Regions from separate parts of the Homo sapiens genome. Here region 1 is linked to region 2. Evidence: promoter capture Hi-C in 16 types of primary human blood cells and fetal thymus (Javierre and others, 2016). All regions are on one chromosome and are shown on one strand. Each heading gives the region's core, a stretch centred on a gene start or on the middle of the fragment in contact. The rest is flanking DNA. Distances are from core to core; before and after follow the strand shown. Region 1 overlaps THUMPD3 (THUMP domain 3 tRNA guanosine methyltransferase). Region 2 holds the start of PRRT3 (proline rich transmembrane protein 3).

What was found. The method cuts DNA at HindIII sites, captures the fragments that hold promoters and counts their contacts. A CHiCAGO score of 5 or more calls a contact.
Region 1: a contact is called between a fragment that was not itself captured here and the fragment with the promoter of PRRT3 in region 2, in 1 of 17 cell types (activated CD4 T cells). The highest score is 5.8, in activated CD4 T cells.

The regions. Positions count from the first base shown.
Region 1 is chr3:9,380,082-9,383,057 of GRCh38, forward strand. It overlaps THUMPD3 (THUMP domain 3 tRNA guanosine methyltransferase), which reads left to right. Exons shown (of 10, transcript NM_001114092.2): 7 at 422-537. Among named protein-coding and RNA genes, the nearest start is that of THUMPD3-AS1, 15 kb to the right of the region's middle. The HindIII fragment of the contact is 6,287 bases long and covers 1-2,976 here.
Region 2 is chr3:9,950,669-9,953,714 of GRCh38, forward strand. PRRT3 (proline rich transmembrane protein 3) reads right to left here and starts at 1,740. Exons shown (of 4, transcript NM_207351.5): 1 at 1,654-1,740. All of the region lies in intron 3 of PRRT3-AS1 (PRRT3 antisense RNA 1), which reads left to right. RefSeq lists a silencer at 1,239-1,778. The HindIII fragment of the contact is 9,295 bases long and covers 1,226-3,046 here.

The DNA of each region.
Region 1 (2,976 bases), core at 150-2,649, 570 kb before region 2:
TTAGAATTTAGTGTGCCAGACACTGCTGGATGAGGAACTGAATAAAATACTAGACCTGACCTCAGAGAGCTCCCAGGTTAGTTGAGAGGCATAAAGGGGAAGAAATAATTAACCGTGGGACAAGTGCAGTGGCAGAGGTACGTACATACAAAGTGTTTTTGGGAGGGGCACATAAGACTGCTTGGAGAGTTAAGGTTGATGTTGAAAGGGCATGAGGTTTGAGCTGGGTCTTAAGAGATGGGTAGAGGTTCAGCAAGCAGAGAAAGAATAAGAGGGCATTTTCAGCCAGGGAAATAGCACAGTTGACAACATGCAATGTTTTGCCACTCTAGAAAAGCACTGGATTTTCTTTGTTTGTTGACAATTTAATCATATTTTACAGTTTGCTACTTTTGTTTTAACATACACTCTTATCTTTTAGGGGGCCACTGAATGGTCTGACTGTTTCCATATTGCTGGTGATAATAATCCACTGGCTGTGAATAGAGCAGCAAATAACATTGCATCTTTATTGACCAAGAGCCAAATTAAAGAAGGGTAAAAATTTAAAAGATTTCTTAGCATCTTTTAGAGTTAGAGAATCACTTTTTATATTGACTTTATGAATTAAAACTCCCAGTGCATTGTGACGTCATTGTAACCAAAATGAATATACTATGAGACTCCATTTACATTTTTAAAGTTTATTGAAAATAAGTTATATTTTTAAAATATTATTTTAGCGATAATTTCCCCACCATATGCAATTTTTCATTTGTCTTATTCATATGTCTTTTCCCCTACATATTGGAAGAATATTTTATAGACTCATTTTAATTTCACAAAATTTTAAACAGTATATTTTTACATAGGCTTCTTTTTTGCTTTGGGTACAGGGTCTCATTTTGTCACCCAGGCTGGAGTGCAGTGACATGATCATGGCTCACTGTAGCCTCAACCTACTGAGCTCAAGCAATCCTCCTGCCTTGGCCTCCCTAGTAGCTAGGAATACAGGCATGTGCCACCATGCCCAGCTAATTTTTTAAAATCTTCGTAGAGATGGGGGTCTTGCTGTTTTGTCCAGGCTGGTGTCAAACTCCTGGCCTCAAGAGATTCTGCCGCTTCAGCCTTCCAAATTGCTGGGATTAGAGACGAGTCACCACACCTGGACCATAGTCTTTAAAGTCACTACATAAATTCCATCGTATAGAAATACTGCAGTTTATATAGCCTCGCCTCTATTTTATTACTAAGTCATTGGTTATATATTTCATTGTCTCTCTGATCTAATTTTTTAGGACAGTGCTTCTCAAACATTAATGTACATGTGAATCACCTAGGAGTACTGTTAACACAGATCTGATTTAGTAGTTTGGGATGGGACCTAAGAGTCTGCATTTTCCAGGAAACTCCAGGACAATGCTGATGCTGCTGGTCTATGTATCAACATTAAATCCTTTTACGTGTATTAAGACAAGTAGTTGGAAGGCTTCAATTTTCTTAAATACTGATTTATTGTGATGAATTAATTTTGAATGGTTGTTTCATATTTATTGAGGGTTTTTTTTAATGAGCCTAGTATATGGCCAGTCTTTTTTTTTTTTAATTAAAACTGATAAACATTTAAACAAACGTACCTTTCTAGCTTCTGAATATTTTATCTTGTTTGTACCTACACTGTCTGTTCAACCCGTACTTTTTTTTTTTTTTTTTTTTTTTTTTTTTTTTTTTTTTTTTGAGACGGAGTCTCACTCTGTCGCCCAGGCTGGAGTGCAGTGGCTTGATCTCGGCTCACTGCAAGCTCCGCCTCCCGGGTTCACGCCATTCTCCTGCCTCAGCCTCCCAAGTAGCTGGGACTACAGGCACCCGCCACCATGCCCGGCTTATTTTTTTTTTGTATTTTTAGTAGAGACGGGTTTTCACCATGTTAGCCAGGATGGTCTCAATCTCCTGACCTCATGATCTGCCCACCTTGGCCTCCCAAAGTGCTGGGATTACAGGCATGAGCCACTGTGCCCGGCCTCAACCTGTACATTTCTATCCATTTTACTTTGGTTTTTAATATTTTTTGCCTTTTGTTTTGTGCAGTTATTGGTATGCGGTTATAATACATATTTTATGTGTACTTTTAAAAATTATGTAATGATTGCTTTTATTGCATTTTTTTCTTAAATTCTTCATTAAATGTCAATTAAATCCTTAATTTCTGCTGATAACCTTTGACTTATCTTCAGTTCTTAGCCTGTGCATTATTTTGTTTCTTAAACCAGTTGCTTTGCCTTAATGAGGAGGATTTAAATCCTTTGTATTTATTATTATTCATTCTGTCTTCTGTCATCTATATTTTTTATCTTAACTTTTTTCTTAGTCTTGTTTTATATAGCATGGCACATATTTTCCTTTTGGTTTTTCATCTTGAAACAATTACCTATATATTTGCCAATTTTACTATCTGTTTTTCTTTTAGGCCTCCTGTTATTACTAGTTTTACAAACTTTATTCTTCAGATACATCACCCCATTATCTATTCTTTAGTATTGTTTTTCTCCAGTGTATGTTTTATCAGCAACTTAAATTTTTGTATCATCGGTTATGTAATTTACTGCTTCAGCATTGTTTTTAAAGTTGTCTTTTGCAGTTCTCTGCATTACAATCATGTTTTCAGTTTGTTTCCCTTTTTTCTGAGACGGGGGTCTTGCTCTGTCACCCAGGCTGGAGTAAAGCGGCACAATCCTAGCTCACTGCATCTTTCAACTCCTGGACTCAAGTGATCCTCCCACCTCAGCCTCCTGAGTAGCTGGGACTATAGGTGTGTGCCATCATGCCCTGCTAACTTCTTAAAAAAGTATTTTAGAGACAAGGTCTCACAGTGTTGCTCAGCTGGTCTCAAATTCCTGGAGTCCAGTGATCCTCCCACCTCAGCCCCTGAAAGTGCTGATTATAGGCACAAGCTACCATGCCCAGCCTGACCTATTTTTTACCTTTGTGCCATTTCTT
Region 2 (3,046 bases), core at 490-2,989:
ATTTTTATATTTTTAATAGAGATGGGGTTTTGCCATGTTGGCAAGGCTAGTCTTGAACTCCTGACCTCAGGTAATCTGCCCATCTTGGCCTCCTAAAGTGCTGGGATTACAGGCATGAGCCACTGCACCCTGCCTGAAATGTTATTCCTAAAGGCCCACTTCAAAAATGAGAGACGTGGAGAGGGAGAGGAATATGCACCGGCCTTTGGCGAGGGGCCTGAGTTTGAATCCCAGTGTCTTCATTTCCTGGGGGAGTCATTTCACCTCTCTGCATCATAGTTTTCCCATCAGTAAAATGGGGATAATAAGCATGCCTAACTCAAGGCATGAGACAAATAACCAAACAGGTATGGGCGAGGTTCATACCTGATGCTTGACAAGCGTTACACATTCCTCTTCCCGCCTTCCTTCCCTCATCTTCCTGGGCACTTGTCACTCTGGTCTGATTCTATAATAATCTCCTGCCTCTTATTTCAAACCTGCAGCCTCCAGTATATACCTGGCCCCACGTGGATATCCCCTAAAAGTTCCTGTTCTCGAGAGCCTGTCAGTGGGCCAGGGAGGCAGGAAGGGGCCCCACCACCAGGAGAGGTTTCATGGAGGGTGCGAGAGCTGAAGCCTGGGTGTGTTTGGCGGCAGAGGCCCTGCTCTTTTCCTCTCTGGGGAGCAGCTGTCCCCAAAGCTTCCTGGCTGTTAACCCATGGTGGCTCACAGACACCTTAAGAAGCCACTGAAAACCCCTGGTGCTCTCCCGGGGAAAAGACCCAGGCTCACCGAAAGTTGTGAACAATTTCAAGGGGTTCAAAGACCTTTGAGTCCCATCCTCCAAACTCGAGTTTAGACTCTGTCTTAAAGCCTTGTTAGTTCATTTCTCAAACATTCACGGAGCCCCATGGGCTGCTCCTGGTCTAGGCTAGGTGCTGGGGGCCCAGAGACAGGGCTTTGCTCCAGGGTTGGGAGTAGGGGTGCGCTGAGACGCCCCTAACACAGGTACTGGCTAAAAACAGTGCTCCTGTGTTTAGTTCTTTCCCAGTGAGGCTCCTGCGCTGAGCTTAGCAACACGTCACTCCGCCCTCCCAATACAAGGTGTGGGAACAGCCATTTCACAGGGGGAAGAAACGGGGGTTCAGAGAGGGTGAGCAACTCCCCCAAGGTCACACAGCTGAGTGGACACAATCGGGGTTGTGAAACCCTCGGAGGCTCATCTTCCACAGGAGGTCCAAAAAGCTTTGCCGAGAAAACGGCTGAATGGGGCCTCCAAAGATAAACATGCCATCTGCCTACCACTGCCAACCCAAGAGATGTGGGCACCTGCGGACAAGGCGGGGGCTTGCCCAGCCCTGGGCTCCCACTCTGCTGGAGAGGCTGTGGGGGGTGGCGGATCTCTCTGCCGCAGGGACTGGGGAGAGGCCGGCCTGGGGGCAGGGCGAGGCCGTTGCGGGGCAGCCTCGGAGCTGGTCCATCTCGGGTTACCTCTCCTCCTCCTCCTCCTCCTCCTCCGTCTCCTCTCTCCCTGGCTCCGCGCCTTCCCGCAGTGTCCTGGATGGGGGTGGGCGCCGTGCAGGCCTGGTCGCCTGCGCCCGCGACGGGGGCAGCAGGCCACGCTCCCCGTCGGGGTCCCGCCATCGCCCCCTCCCTGGGCCAGCTCCTCACCTGCGCGCCGCAGCCCCCGTGTTCACCTTGCGCGCGTCCCTGCAGCCGATCGCCGCGCCGCATCCTCCGAGATGCTCAGACTCGGCTAACAGAGCCCGGCGCTGCCGATCGCGAGCCCGCCCACAGGAGCGCAGCCCTGCTTAACTCTTTCCCCTTAGGGGTGGACTCTTCTGTCAACCCTGACTTCCCCTCGCTCAGGGATTGTCAGGGCTCAGAGTGGAACCGAGGTCATCTCTGAGGGATGTGGAAATGTCTTCTGCAGCATCCCTGAAAACGGGGCAGCTAGCCTCTGCTTGCATACCTCATGGGACGGGGAGCTCACTTCCTTTCTATATCCCTACATCCTTTTAGGTAAATCCTACCTACAGCTTGGTATGTATCCTTCAGATTCTTCTCAATGTACAGTTACATGTACATCTTAAATAGAAATGACATCATACTGTATACTTTTTTTTTTTTTTTTTGAGACAGTCTTGCTCTGTCGCCCAGGCTGGAGTGCAGTGGCGTGATCTCGGCTCACTGCAACCTCCGCCTCCCAGGTTCAAGTGGTTCTCCTGCCTCAGCCTCCCTAGTAACCATGCCTGGCTAATTTTTATATTTTTAGTGGAGACAGGGTTTCACCATGTTGGCCAGGGTGGTCTCGAACTCCTGACCTCAGGTGATCAGCCCGCCTCGGACCCCCAAAGTGTTGGGATTACAGGCGTCAGCCACCGTGCCCAGCCACTGTACACATTTCTGTAATTTGTCTTTTTCACTTTCCAATATATTCTGGCACATTTTTCATGTAAATATCTATAGATCTATATCATTTCTTGTATCCACTGTTGAGAATTCCAGCATATGGTCAGCTAGTTATTGTTCTTTATCCTGTCCCCTGTAATTGGACATAGGTTGTTTCTAGCCTTTTGCTCGCAGGGATAATGGAGCAGGGGCCATTCCTTGCTTAACACATCACTGTGCACGTACACTAGTGCACCTACCAGATAATTGCCTAGCCGAGGCATGGTAGTAAAATCTATGGGTCTGCATATGGGGCTGGTAGACACTGTCAAAATGTTCTTGGTCTTTCTTTGAACACCTCTTGATATACTAAACATCCATTATTAGGCTCAATTCCTTAAGGGAAAGCCACACAGGAAATATATGTGGTTATCAAAAATGAGATAGGGCTGGGTGCAGTAGCTCACACCTGTAATCCCAGCACTTTGGGAGGCCTAGAGAGGAGGATCATTTTGAGCCCAGGAGTTCAAGACCAGCATGGGCAAGATGGTGAGACTTTTTTAAATTAAAAAACAAACAAAAAAACAAAAAAACTAGCTGGGCGTGGTGGTACATGCCTGTAGTCCTACCTACTCCAGAGGCTGAGGCCAGAGAATCATTTGAGCCCAAGAGG